Linked DNA regions of Homo sapiens: all the other regions are linked to region 4. Evidence: promoter capture Hi-C in 16 types of primary human blood cells and fetal thymus (Javierre and others, 2016). All regions are on one chromosome and are shown on one strand. Each heading gives the region's core, a stretch centred on a gene start or on the middle of the fragment in contact. The rest is flanking DNA. Distances are from core to core; before and after follow the strand shown. Region 1 overlaps KLF8 (KLF transcription factor 8). Region 2 has its middle 6.3 kb from the start of UBQLN2. Region 3 overlaps NBDY (negative regulator of P-body association). Region 4 holds the start of ZXDA (zinc finger X-linked duplicated A). Region 5 overlaps NBDY (negative regulator of P-body association).

What was found. The method cuts DNA at HindIII sites, captures the fragments that hold promoters and counts their contacts. A CHiCAGO score of 5 or more calls a contact.
Region 1: a fragment that was not itself captured here is called in contact with the fragment with the promoter of ZXDA in region 4 in 1 of 17 cell types (M0 macrophages); the score reaches 6.9 in M0 macrophages.
Region 2: a fragment that was not itself captured here is called in contact with the fragment with the promoter of ZXDA in region 4 in 4 of 17 cell types (monocytes, M1 macrophages, non-activated CD4 T cells and 1 more); the score reaches 8.4 in monocytes.
Region 3: a contact is called between a fragment that was not itself captured here and the fragment with the promoter of ZXDA in region 4, in 10 of 17 cell types (monocytes, non-activated CD4 T cells, naive CD4 T cells and 7 more). The highest score is 12.1, in monocytes.
Region 5: a contact is called between a fragment that was not itself captured here and the fragment with the promoter of ZXDA in region 4, in 11 of 17 cell types (monocytes, naive CD4 T cells, M2 macrophages and 8 more). The highest score is 16.2, in monocytes.

What each region holds. Positions count from the first base shown.
Region 1 is chrX:56,234,112-56,236,811 of GRCh38, forward strand. All of the region lies in intron 1 of KLF8 (KLF transcription factor 8), which reads left to right. Among named protein-coding and RNA genes, the nearest start is that of KLF8, 3.1 kb to the left of the region's middle. The HindIII fragment of the contact is 3,409 bases long and covers 1-2,700 here.
Region 2 is chrX:56,568,542-56,571,241 of GRCh38, forward strand. No RefSeq gene overlaps it. Among named protein-coding and RNA genes, the nearest start is that of UBQLN2, 6.3 kb to the left of the region's middle. The HindIII fragment of the contact is 1,249 bases long and covers 637-1,885 here.
Region 3 is chrX:56,818,588-56,821,287 of GRCh38, forward strand. It overlaps NBDY (negative regulator of P-body association), which reads left to right. Exons shown (of 3, transcript NM_001348129.2): 3 at 1-592. Among named protein-coding and RNA genes, the nearest start is that of NBDY, 91 kb to the left of the region's middle. RefSeq lists a silencer at 1,569-1,863. The HindIII fragment of the contact is 3,504 bases long and covers 1-2,700 here.
Region 4 is chrX:57,909,163-57,911,862 of GRCh38, forward strand. ZXDA (zinc finger X-linked duplicated A) reads right to left here and starts at 1,296. Exons shown (of 1, transcript NM_007156.5): 1 at 1-1,296. The coding sequence starts at 1,258. RefSeq lists a silencer at 464-723. The HindIII fragment of the contact is 7,022 bases long and covers 1-2,700 here.
Region 5 is chrX:56,780,358-56,783,057 of GRCh38, forward strand. All of the region lies in intron 2 of NBDY (negative regulator of P-body association), which reads left to right. Among named protein-coding and RNA genes, the nearest start is that of NBDY, 52 kb to the left of the region's middle. RefSeq lists an enhancer at 2,213-2,352. The HindIII fragment of the contact is 775 bases long and covers 936-1,710 here.

The DNA.
Region 1 (2,700 bases), core at 110-2,609, 1.7 Mb before region 4:
ATCCAAACAGGTGGCCAAAGGCACCATGTCTTATTTCTTTTGGTATTATATTCATCGTGAAGAAACGCATTTATTAAGCACCTGTCACCCAGTGTGGTAATAATTGAGCAAAAAGAATAATCTTTAAATTTGGATTTGAAACTGATGGAGATTGCCATGGTTTGGGGTAATCTGCTTTGAAACCCTAGTATCACCACTTATTAGCTGCATCACCCTGGGCCTTGCTTTTCTCTTCCATAGAATGCAGATTAATAATTCTATCTCAGTAGATACTCGGGTGGATGAAATATCTTGTGTATGTGGCAGAGGCTGCCACTTGTATCTTAGTTCAACTTCCCTTTTCTACTCAGTTTGGAACTATTTTTCTGGACCACTGCTGATAAAATTAGTGTTTTTCTGTCCTTAAAACACCTTCCAGATGTGGTAAAACGAAACTTAGGAAGACTGAATTAGTTTGTCCAAAGGCTGAGGCTAGAACACAGGTTTTATTTGCTTCTGATTTAACATTGTTTCCACCAGACTTCATCACTTCTGAAAGAAAGGGCTACTAGCCTGCCTTTTCTCTCATTCTTTGGGCAACTTAACCAGAATGATATAACCAACAGGACTTTTGGACAACAGAAACAAGTGATAGGTAAATGACCTCATCCCATTCTTCAGAGTTATGGGGAAGCCCTTGAGAGTTGTTGACCTTTGGTGACTGCTGGGGACACAGAGAATGGGTGGGGAGCAATGTCTTCAGGTAAGCCTGGAGGGCAGACAGGCAGAAAACATAGGAAGAGTAGAAATAATAACCTCAAAAGTAAAAATGACAGGTGCATCTATGTAGTCCACCCTCAAGACCAACTTACTTAATGGCTGTACCTTCAGAGCCCTCAGGAGCTATACATCCCTCTTGTTTAGACTTTTCAGGGCACATTGGAAATTGGGAAAAAAATAACCATGTAGCAGACTACCATCACCACTCTCATTGTTCTAATACATGCATTTCTGAGGTGGGGTTCTCATTGGCTAAGTGAATTCCAATAACCAAAGTAGCAAACAGAGCCTAGTCATTTTTGATCTTGCCAGATTGTCTGTGCCTGGTGCGGTGGGGGCAGTATATGATCTTCTAAGATCTAGCTTTACAATGCCATGATTTTGTGAATGAAGGAAAACTTAATTAGGATGATTGACATAGATGATCATCTAGTATGATTACCATCTTATTGTTAAGTAGAGTATGAATAAGGGAATAACATTGTAGTATTGGGCTCATTTGTTTATTCAAAGACAGTGTGAGATCATGTTTGGTATTCTTCCTGATTTTTTTTTTTTTTTTTGACACGGTGTTTCGCCCTTGTTGCCCAGGCTGGAGTGCAATGGCGTGATCTCGGCTTGCCGCAACCTTCGCCTCCCAGGTTCAAGTGATTCTCCTGCCTCAGCCTCCTGAGTAGCTGGGATTACAGGCATGCACCACCATACCTGGCTAATTTTGTATTTTTAGTGGAGACGGGGTTTCTCCATGTTGGTCAGGCTGGTCTCGAACTCCCAACCTCAGGTGATCCATCCACCTCAGCCTCCCAAAGTGCTGGGATTACAGGCATGAGCCACGTGCCCAACCTCTTCCTGATTTTTATATGCTAATGTTTACTATCCTCAACTGAGTTTCATCATTTAGCCTGTTTCCTCATCTCTAAAATGACATGATAATTTGTGATTATAAATAATGTAAGGAAAGCATTGAACTCAGTGCCTGATATCTAATATGTTTCATAAGTTGCGGTCTCATCATTTTTGTTATTTAAAAAAATTTGTTTTATTTAAATGCTGCTGTGTGTTTGCAGAAGTGGAATGTAGATTAGTGGACAGGAAGCTGGATTTAAATATATGAAAGGTGCTAGATGTTCTGTATAATATACTAAAAGATGTTATTTGTGTATTTAGACAAAATAGATGTGATGTGGGCAAACTAAGCTCTAGGATTATTAAGGAGCAATAACCTAACTCAAGAGCCCAATCCAGATATTTCAAATCACTAGCAATTTGACATTTTGTTGTAACCTCACACTCACCATTTCTAATATACAGCCCATCATCACCTCTGGACTCTTCACTCATTCCTCATTCAAGACTCTTCCTTTCACTTCCCTGGTTCTGCAACTTACTATGACCATAGTAATGGTGAACTTATTTAAACTCTGTACTTTAGTTGTCATATCTGTGCATTGGGGATAATAATAGACACTACCTCATAAGGTTGCTGTGAGGAATAAGTGTGTTAATTTTGTAAACACTTAGAAGGCGGCATGAAAGTGAAGCAGTGGGAAAATGTAGCTGTTGTGGTACTCATGTCCCTTTCCCCTCTTCCTCATTTTCTCATTTAATTAGATGCCAATGGCTGTTGTATTTTTTCCCCTTTGTATCTGGTATCTGTTTCTTTATTATTATTCTAACTGCCACCACCTTAATTTAGGCGAGACGTGCAAACAATTAGCCTACAGACCAACTAAAGCTCACACGTGTTTTGTTTTCCCTAAAATTTAAAAACTTTCAACTAAAACATGCATTTTCAATTGGTAATGCATTCCGCCTGGCTCAAAATTCAGTATTTACTAAAGGGTGCATGGTGAAAAAAGTCTCCCTCCTATTCCTGTTCTCTAGCCACCCATTTTGCCTCGCTGGAGGCAACTAATGTTATCTATTTATTAGGAATCTCTC
Region 2 (2,700 bases), core at 11-2,510, 1.3 Mb before region 4:
CTTATAACTTCATTTATTTTGGCCTTTTAAAAATTACTTTTAACTGTTCTTCCTCCATCTCTTACATGATGTAATTTCCTCCTATTATGTTGCAGGTTCTTTTTAAAGGCTCTGTTTTTGTTTTGGGTTTTCTTCATCTACTATTGATCCAAGATTTATCCATTTATTCATCATTGAATCAAGAAGGGTATATCCTGACCTGCTATCCCTCCCCCTCCAACAAGAGTGGAACAATTATTTTGTATCCATTCACTGTTTACTGGGTTGTCACCCCATCCAACAAGAGTGGAACAGTGTTTTTGTATCCATTCCCTGTTTACTGGGTTGTCACCCCCTCCCAATGGCTCTGCGATCCAGCAAGATGTGGTAGTAGGGAGGGAGCTAATGCCAGGGGCAAACCCAGCAGGATGACTTCACCCTCAAGACAGCTTTCCTCATTTGCTTTTGTCCTCTGTTTCAGGTACGTGATATCATACATACTTTCTCTACTCGTGTGGGAGGGGAGGGGCAGGGGGCATATACACAACTTGGAAACAAAACCTGTTGGTTCATTAAAGGGGACTTTTGCATCAAGTTGAGATCTCCATGCTAGTTGAGAAACTAGGATCAGGAGACACCTGTATTTGGGTGTGGACAAGCTTGCCCTCTGAGAGAGGACAGCCTGCTCCAAATTATGTTAATCTGCAGTGTCAAAATAGGACCAAATTGACTAATTCCTGTTAGGGCCAAGCCTAGTGATCAGGGTTGAGATGTCAGGAAAGCCATTTGGCCTGTGTCTTATAATTCAAAAAGGGATTCAAATTCAGACTTTTGACACTATCCTAAATGAACTGATAACTCTAGCCACAAAGCCAGACTGACCTGATGTAAATGTTTGTCATACAGCTTAATTTAGTATATGTAAAGAAATTAAATTATTTGGCAAATTTGATATTCCTAATTGAGTATTATTAAAAAAATATACTGAGGCCAGGCACAGGGGCTCGCTCATGCCTGTAATCTCAGTACTTTGGGAGGCCAAGGTGGGCAGATCACGTGAGGTCAGGAGTTTGAGACCAGCTTGGCCAATGTGGTGAAACCCCATCTCTACTAAAAATACAAAAAAAATTAACCAGGCGTGGTGTTGCACGCCTGTAATTCCAGCTACTCAGAAGGCTGAGGCACGAGAATCACTTGCACCCATGAGGCAGAGATTGCAGTGAGCTGAGATCACACCATTGCACTCCAGCCTGGGTGACAGAATGAGACAATGCCTCATAGAATTAAGGACCTATTCTCATGCCACCATTTTCCCAGAATTCTGTTAGAAGACTTAGGGGAAAAGCAGTTTTCTGTAAATAGAAAGGAGAAGCATGATTCAGCAGATATCAGACTGAAGCCACCTCAAAGAGCAGGCGTCATCAGGTGGTGCACATGCTTGCATAGGCTTTACACACTTTGACCATGGGTAAAAACCCTTGGCAAAAGCTGCTGTAAACCAACAAGTTCAAAAGTTTGGGTAATGTCATTTTAAAAAGGAGTTGTTTGTCCCAGCATACAAGGACAACATTTATTTGTCCAGTGGGTATGAATCGAGGCATATAGCTCCAGCTGTATTGAGGTATCTGAGCACAGATTTGAGCTCCCTAAAACAGCACTTTTGGAATCCATATTTAGAACTGTGTAGATTAGCAAACTTAAGATAATTTCAAGAAAGATTCTGTAATTCATTATTAAAAGCATGGTTGATGAGCTTGAAAGAAAGAAGAAAGATGATTACTCGGCCCTAGCATGTATTTCACAAGATTGCCAAACTGAATTTTGTTAGGTTAGAATAACAATAATAGCTAACATACTCATTGCTATGTTCAATCTCGTAGTAGCTCTGTAAGGTAGCACAATTACAAGCTTCCCCAGCTTACAGATAAGGAAATAAGCTGAATGAGACTAAGTAACTTGAGCAAGGTCACACTACTTACTATTAAGTGACAGAGTCAAGGTTTGAACCCAGTTCTGAGATTCTAGACTATGCTCTTAAGCAGTACATTATACTGCCTCCCCTTAAGTCTATTAAACTATACTGGTCTGTTAATCAGAGATTTTACTATAAGTTGTATACTAGCTGGCCTCCTGGGTGTTGTTCGGGAGAACATTGGCTCTTGTTAAATAAATACATCTCTGCTACTGTTCACATTGGAGCAGTCTACACAAAAATGCACATGTGAGAGTCAGCTCTGTCATAAATCAGTAACTGCAACTTAAGAGCTTTGCCTTTCTTACTTTCAAGATGTGGCTAATATTTGAAACTGCCCTTAAATACATCCGTTTATAGTGGCCTAATACATAACAGTATGTCTCCAAAAAAGCAATCACATGGGCCACTTGTACTTCAGGTGCTCTGGAGGATGCCTACCTTTTTGCTGAACCGCCTTCCAGAGATCTCAAAAGGCAAACATTATGTACCTCATCAAGCCGTTTGGCAGTTTCTCATAATATCCTTGAGATTAAAATGGAGTAACAAGATGATAATGACAGGACAGTAGATGGGTTAATAATTTGAATTGACAGTGTTCAACAATATAGATATCAAAGTGATCAAAGGTTTCCAACCTTAGCCCTGTCCCATCAAAGTTGTTTTATAATGACTAGCAAGAAAATATAAAATAGCATGCCCATCCCATTGCAAATAATATAGAATTAGATGGCAGAATAAATGTACTT
Region 3 (2,700 bases), core at 185-2,684, 1.1 Mb before region 4:
AGTATTATAAAGATGACAACACTCTTCAAAATAATCAAACTATTCAATGCAACCCTTATCAAAATTAAGGTTGCCTACTTTGAAGAAATTTATAACCTGATTCTAAAGTTCATATGAAAATGTAATGGACCCAGAATAGCCAAAACAATCTTGAAGTATACAAAGTTTGAAGAGTCACATTTCCAAATTTTAAAACTTATTACAAAGCTACAATAAACAAGTCTATGTGGTACTGGCATAGGATATAAATATTGATCAATGAAATAGAATCCAAAGTCCAGACATAAGCCCTCACAAAAGTTAATTTGCAGCCAATTAACTTCTGAGAAGGAGGCAAGACAAAAGGGGAAATAACTATTTTCAATAAATGGTACTGGGACAACTTGGTATCTACATGCAAAAAAAAAACAAAAAAACAAAAAACTTCCACCCCTACCTCATGCAAAATACAAAAATTAACTCAAAATAGGCCAAAGACTCAAATATAAGGGTTACACTATAAAACTCTTGGGAGGAAATATAGAATAAATTTTTGTGACCTTGAATTAAGTATTAGATTTTTAATTCTTACACCAAAGCACAAGTTAATAAAGGAAAAAAAAGATAAACTGGACATAATTAAAATTGAAAAAAAATTTGCTTCAGTGAACACAGTCAAGAAATTTGAAAGACAGCCACAGTGCAAGATTATTTTTGCAAATAATATGTCTCATAAATGACTTGTATCTAAAATATATAAGACCAGGCATGGTGGCTCATCCTGTAATCCCAGCACTTTGGGAGGCTGAGGCAGGGGGATCACTTGAGGTCAGGAGTTTGACACCAGCCTGGCCAACATGATGAAACCCCATCTTTACTAAAAATACACACACAAAAAAAATTAGCAGGGTGTGGTGGTGTATGCCTGTAATCTTAGCTACTCAGGAGGCTGAGGTGGGAGGATAGCTTGAACCTGGGAGGCAGAGGTTGCAGTGAGCCAAAATTGCACCAATGCACACTCCAGCCTAAGCAACAGGGCAAGACGCCATCTCAAAAAATAAAACAAAATAATAAAATAAAATAAACAGTAATTACCGCTAAATAATAAAACAAACAATAAACCAATTTTATAACGAAAGGATCTGAATAGATTCTTCTGTAAAGAAGACATACAAATCACAAATTACACATGAGAAGATGCTCAACACTATTAGTCATCAGGGAAATGCAAATCAAAATCACAAAGAGACAGCAATTTATACCCAGTAGGATACTTATTATTATTATTATTTTAAATAGCAAAATAATAAATGTTAGAATGTGGGAAAACAGGAACATGCGGCATTGTTGCTGGTAATGATAAATGTGCAGCCACTGGGCAAACAATTTTGTGGTTCCTCTCTAAGTTAAAAATAATGGCTGGGCGTGGTGGCTCACACCTGTAATCCCAGCACTTTGGGAGGCTGAGGTGGATGGATCACCTGAGGTCAGGAATTCGAGACTAGCCTGACCAACATGGTGAAACCCCATCTCTACTAAAAAATATAAAAAATTAGCCCAGCTACTCAGGAGGCTGACGCAGGAGAATCCCTTGAACCTGGGAGGCAGAGGTTGCAGTGAGCCGAGATCCCACCACTGCACTCCAGCCTGGGCATGACAGAGCAAGACTCCATCTCAAAAAAAAGAAAAAAAAAAGAAATAACATGCTACCCAGCAATTTTACTCCTGATACATAGCCAAAATAACTAAAAAACAGGTGTTCAAACAAAAATTGTACAGGACGGTTTACAGCAGAAATATTTGTACTAGGAAAATGTGGAAACAACTCAAATGCCCATCAACTGGTGAATGGAAAACAAAATGTATATTCACACAATGGAATATTAATTTAGTCATATACAGGAAATAAGTATACATACTGCCAGAATAAACCTTGAAAGCATTATGCCAAAAAAAAAAAAAAGGAAAATAATTCTTGCCTGGTGGTCTGGGAAAAGCAAAAGCATTATGCTATGTGAAAAAAGCCAGTCACACAGTACCATATATTATATAATTTCATATAAATAAAATGTCCACATGAGGCAAGTCTATAGGTTCAGAAAAAATATTTGCTTAAGGATGGAGTTTCCCTTAAGTTATGATTGAGAATTGATGTCTAAGGACTGTGTGATTTTATTCAGGGTTAATGAAAATGCATAAGAATTGACTGTAGTGATATTTACACATATCTATGCTTATCTATAAATATCCAAAACCATTGAATTGTACACTTTAAATCACGGATTGTATTATATGTGCATATCTCAAGTTGTTTAAAACAATAGATGTCTGGCTAGCACCTCCCAAGGCAGCCTCTCCCAACTTTTATTTTATTTTTTTGAGACGGAGTTTCACTCTTGTTGCCCAGGCTGGAGTGCAATAGTGCAATCTTGGCTCACTGTAACCTCCACCTCCCAGGTTCAAGGAATTCTCCTGCCTCAGCCTCCCGAGTAGCTGGGATTACAGGCATGCACCACCACACCCAGCTAATTTTGTATTTTTGGTAGAGACAGGGTTTCTCCATGTTGAGGCTGGTCTCGAACTCCTGACCTCAGGTGATCCGCCCGCCCCTTGGCCTCCGAAAGTGCCGGGATTACAGGCGTGAACCACCATGCCTGGCCAGCCTCTCCCAACTTATTAAATTCCTATGCAGCAAGATGGCAAAATGGAATTCTTCAGCAC
Region 4 (2,700 bases), core at 46-2,545:
ACAGTTCCTGTTCCCTGAAATGGGCGCGGTTATGGGAAAACAGAGCACTCACTGTGATAAATGTCTTCTTGCAGCCAGAAAACGCGCACTGGTAAGGCCTCTCGGGTTCGAAGTGGCTGCGCTGGTGGGCGCCGAGTTTGGCCTGCGTGGGGAAGCTCTCCTCGCACACCTCACATTTGAACGAGTTCTCCTGCTCATGGCCCTTCATGTGCGCCTTGAGGTTGTACACGGTGGTGAAGCTCTTGCCACAGCCCTCCGCAGGGCAGCCGAAGGGCCGCAGTTTATCGTGCGACTGCAGGTGCCTCTTGAGCTTGTAAGAGGTGGTGAAGGTCCAGCCGCAGCCACCCAGGGGGCATTTGAAGGGCCTCTGGCCCTGGCTGCTGCTGTGCGTCAGCAGGTGCATCTTCAGCTGGTGCTTCTTGGCGAAGGTTTGCCCGCACAGCGCCTCGGGGCACAGGTACAGCACCACGCCTGGACCAGAGCCCAGCAGTCCGCGGGGGCCCAGGGCGGCGGCCAGGCCCTCCGCCTCCTCCTGGGGCGCCGGAGCAGGCGCGGGTTCTGCGGGCTCGGCTAGCAGGAGGTCGGACCGCAGCTCTGGGCAGTCACCCGGGTGCGCGGCTTGCGGGAACCCAGCTTGGGGGGCGATCAGACACCTGGGCTGCTGGGCAGGAGCGGCCCCTGGCTCCCAGGCGTGTGGTGGGGGCGTGGCCAGGGTGAGGACGCCGTTCTCAAAGCGCAACAGCAGGTCCTGGTTGTGGATAGTGACTGTGCCCGCGAAGGCCGCGGCGGGGCCGGGGGCGGAGATCGGGGCCGGAGTGGGAACCGCGGACAGGCAGTGGGGGCCCTGCGCAGAGCAGCCCGCGGGGTTCGCGCCGCTCTCGTCCCCCTGGAGCCCCGGGCCCGCCTTGGCCTCCTCCCTCAACACAGGCCCTGCGGCCTGACCGGAGCCCGCGGTCTCCACGTCGCCACCCACCGGGTCAAGCAGCACCAGGAAGAAGTCGTCGCCGCCGCCGCTAGGTTGATGGGGCCTCGGCGCGAACAGGCTTGGGCCAGGGCCCCGTGATGCCGTGCTGGCCTCCTCGCGCCGCCGCCCGGGCCCGCCATCTTGGGGGCCCCGGGGCAGCAGGAGGCGGCGCGTGGGGACCTGGCCAGCCGGCGAGTCAGGGCCTCGGTGGACTCGGCCGCCACCCGCGGGGATACCGCCGCCGCCGCCGCCCTGTAGTGTCCCGCGAGCCGGGAGCAGCTTCGGGATTTCCATCTCTGCGTCCGAGAGGCTCGGCTGGAACCAGAGCCGAGGAGGAGGCGCGATCCCGCCCCCTGCCGCGGGCCTGAACACGTTCCTGAAAGGGGAAAAAAAAATGTGCAATGCGCAGAAACTGGCCCTATCAGATATTAAAATGTATTCAACGCCACAGTGATTTAAATATTCTGGTACTGGGTCTCTGGAACGGAATAGAAAGCCCAGAGGTAGAGCCTGGTATGCATAAATATATTCTACAATTAATATAAGTAATTAAGGAGGTCTTCTGAAGTAATGGGGAAATGACGACATCTTGTTCAATAATGCTGTGGAACACCTAGGTATCTATCTGGTAAAAGCAATTTTAATCCGTGACTCATTGTATATACCCAAATAAACACACGCCAGCCCCTCCCAGTGTTAGACATGTTGCTTCATACTTTTTGTGTGTTAAAATTTGTTTATTGGCTGGCTACCTGGCTGGATTGATGGATGAAAGACAATTCCTGAGAGAAAAAACTGTCTCTGTGTCAGCATTAAACCACCATAGTGCTGGCATTTCTGCGGAAATTGCCCTTCCCCTTCCCACCTCTGCGCGGGACAACTTCCATACTCACAATTGTCTTGAGCAAAGTGCTCGGTACAATTTGCCACATAGTTCAATTTTTGTCTGCTGATAACAGAGATTAGAATGAGTGAGAGATGCGGCCAAAACAGATTAGCACTCTTCAGCCTACAAATGCAAAGTCTGGAGGATGAAACAATTTATACTGAAATCTGGAAAAAAACCCAACCCGCCCCTGGCTTCTCCCTATACAGTGCACAACCTAAACCAACTCTTTGCCCTTCGACGATCGGTTGTACCATGATAAACTTCATGTCCACTCTCATAGCACAATGAGGGCATTGCTCAGTTTATTCTGCATTCTCCAGCACATTCTCTGGGCAGGAGTTCCAGTTAAATGTGTTAAGGTTAAACCCTCAGTCACTCAATGGACTCTGCCAAGTAATGTGCACAGACGATCTTGTCCACTCGCCCCGGTGTACCTGCTCACATTTAAGTGTGGTGGCCCAGTCTTGCTGGGCCTTTGGTGCCTAATGTCCTTATTAATGATGACGACAATCCTCCAATTTGTCTGTCACGAATGAGTTTGGAATTGACACAAATATAGGGTGAAATATCTGAGATGAGAAGGCTTAGAGTGATGAACAGATTGGTGGTGGTGGGGGTGGGGGGGTGTAACCTGTTGTTTAAATACTCCCAGCTCTCTCGCCCTCTTTTAATAACAGTGGACACTTGGTCTCTTGAAAATCAAGTTTTTCAACCATAACTATTCGAACCTCATCAAAATTTCTACTCCACATACTTTTCTTTCTATTACTTTTTCTGGAGGAAGCACTTTTCAAATCTGAAATTAGAAGAGTGCATATAACGTATCTGTATAGTTTAGATTATTTTA
Region 5 (2,700 bases), core at 73-2,572, 1.1 Mb before region 4:
GCCCATAATTAGGGTCTCCAGGCAGACATAAGAAAGCCTGATGCGGGACATCATACAGTGCCCATGTTGGGATGCGAAGCCGCGACCGCCTTGCTCTAAAGGTTGCATAGGCTACTCATGCCGCTGGGTGCCTGGACAGCAGCATGGAACACAACGCTCCCCGAATATTGCAAATGTTTTCTGTCTTGGCTTGTTACAAATCTTCCTGGATGTGTAGGCCACCCTGGGGACGAGCAGCCCTTCTTAGGGCAGAAAATTCACCCCACGGGTGATGATTCCCACGCTGGGGGTGTGTGAACCACTCTCACAAGGAGGAATGTCAATCTCGTGAGCGGGCCTGCACTCTCACGGCATTCCGGGCAGAAGAACCACATGACCATGGAACAGGAGTCACCCCCTTTCTGTCACTTGTCAACAAATGCGGATTTTTTTTTTTTTTTTTTTTTTTTTTCCTCATATGTAGGTAGCATGCACCAGGGTGCGCCTCTGGCGGTGCCTAGGGAGAACGCGAGAAGAAAAGAATGCAGGAAGATCTGGACTGCGTCTTTAGGGTTGGCACTGGGACTGTGAGTGTCAGAGGTCCTCGGTTTTAACTTTTAACTCCCATCACATCTCAACTGTTTCCTTGTCAACAAATGTGTGTCCTTTTCTCATAAGTGTATACCATCCACCTCGGGGCCCCTCCTTTTGTGCCTTGGGACATCGGGTGAAGTAAGGAACGCAGGAACTTTGGTGTTGTTAGTTTTAGTGTCAGAGGTTCTTGTTTTTACCTTTGAACATCAATCACGTCTGAACTATATCCTGTCTTCATCTGTGGTTGCATAGGTCCTCAGGCACATACAAGTATCTTCTCCAGTAATGACAAGCTTCTGCCTAGACACCTTCATTCACAACTGTTTCCCGTCATCTAAGCAACCCTCAGGAGGTAGTTGTTAAGCTTTCACGTTCCCTCCTGTTCATTTTTCTTATTGCTTTCTCTCTGCCTTCCCAATATTTGCTGATGGAGTGTGCGGGATGGGGTTGAGGTGTGGGCAGCAGGGAACAGGGCAGTCTCCTGGCCCAACAGATCTTTGTGCAGACGCGGTACAGACCCGGGATTTAGGGGCTTATGCTTTCTTCTGGCTGGCGCCTTATCCTGTGTGAGGACACAGGAGGCTACTCACAGGGCTGTCAGCTTTCCATATGATGAACTCTGCTTTCCAGTTTACTCTGTAACTCATTGCTCACTCTGATTCTTTGTGTACTTTTGGAGTTTTCCTCCCTTCACTTTTTTCTTCTTCACTGTCTTTACTTTTCGTCCGCTTCTGTTTATGGAGGTCACAATCAGCCAAGAAGGCAGGGTCAGTTATGCACGGGGACATGGTTAAGGAAAACAGGCTTACTGTTTCTAAGGAAATTAGAAGGACTCCAGCTGAACCCTGCGAGGAGAAGTTGGCATTTCCTTATTCTTTCTGCCGTGTCTCCATATTGCCATGGGTGGCTGATTACCTCTTTTCCCTGGTGTCCGATTCCTCCCCGTTTTTCATCTTTTTCTTTTGGGTGGTTCTTCACTGCCTTGGTTTTGTAGACTTTGGGCTTGGTGGCCCCTTGCAGTCAGCTGATGACATCCTCAGGGTAAGGTTCAGCCTACACTTGTGTACTCTGTAGTTCTGCAGGCCAATTTGTGGATCAAAGTTTTGATCCCACTCAGGAAAGATCCCATCGACAAGAAGCTTCTCGTTTGTATGTCCTTTAAACGGGAGGTGACCTGGGGCTCCTTGTCACTCATTGTGTATGTCACCACACACTGAGGTCTTCCTTAACTAGATCCTTCAGGACAGCTACAGTGGCATGGACCTCCCACTTTCTGTTCTTGTTCTCTTTCTGGTTATTCTTCCTCTTCCTCCTCCTACTCTTTTAATTCCTCTTCTCTTTTTTGTTTTCTTACTCTTCCTCCTCCATCTTCTCCTCCTCCTCCTCCTTCTTCTTTCCTTCTCCTCTTCTTTTGCCTCTTCTTCTTTTTTGTCTTTTGCTTTTGCCTCTGCTTCTCTTTTTCCCTTCACTTTCAGATCAGGACAGACAAGTGTTCTAGGAGACTGCTTCTTCTTTTGCTCCTTGGTGATTCAGCATGTCTCTCTGCAGTACTAGGCCTAGAGAAAGCTTCACTTTTGTTCTTAATTTAGCACTGATGAAGGTCACCAGTTTAGTCTCTCTGGTATACCAAAAACCTTCCCACATGTTGCTTTTAAGTGAAATGTCATGGTGAACAGATCCTTTACCCAGTTCCTCATGGCTTGCTGTTATTTCCTGTTCTGTTCGTGGATGCACTAGGTGTGTAATCCTGAGCCATTAGGAAGTTTGGCAAGTTGTCCCGTGTCTCCTTTTTTTTCAGTCCAGCCATGTGAACACATTGATCCGGATTTCAGTTTTTGCAGGGTGTCTCCGCCACATGCCCATTTGCCCACTCTCACTCACAGAGGCAGGCACCCACAGACCACAGACACAGACACAATACATACACTCACAAGGGACCCCCCAATCAGAAATTAAATCACAAACACACACGCACATGGAGACTCATGCACACACAGACACAAACACACACATTAAACACGCCTAAGCGGACACACACACAGATACACACAGACACACACACACACACAGAAGTAAGCTCACACTAGTACAAATGTGCGGGTTTAAGCATTATCGTACACAGACACA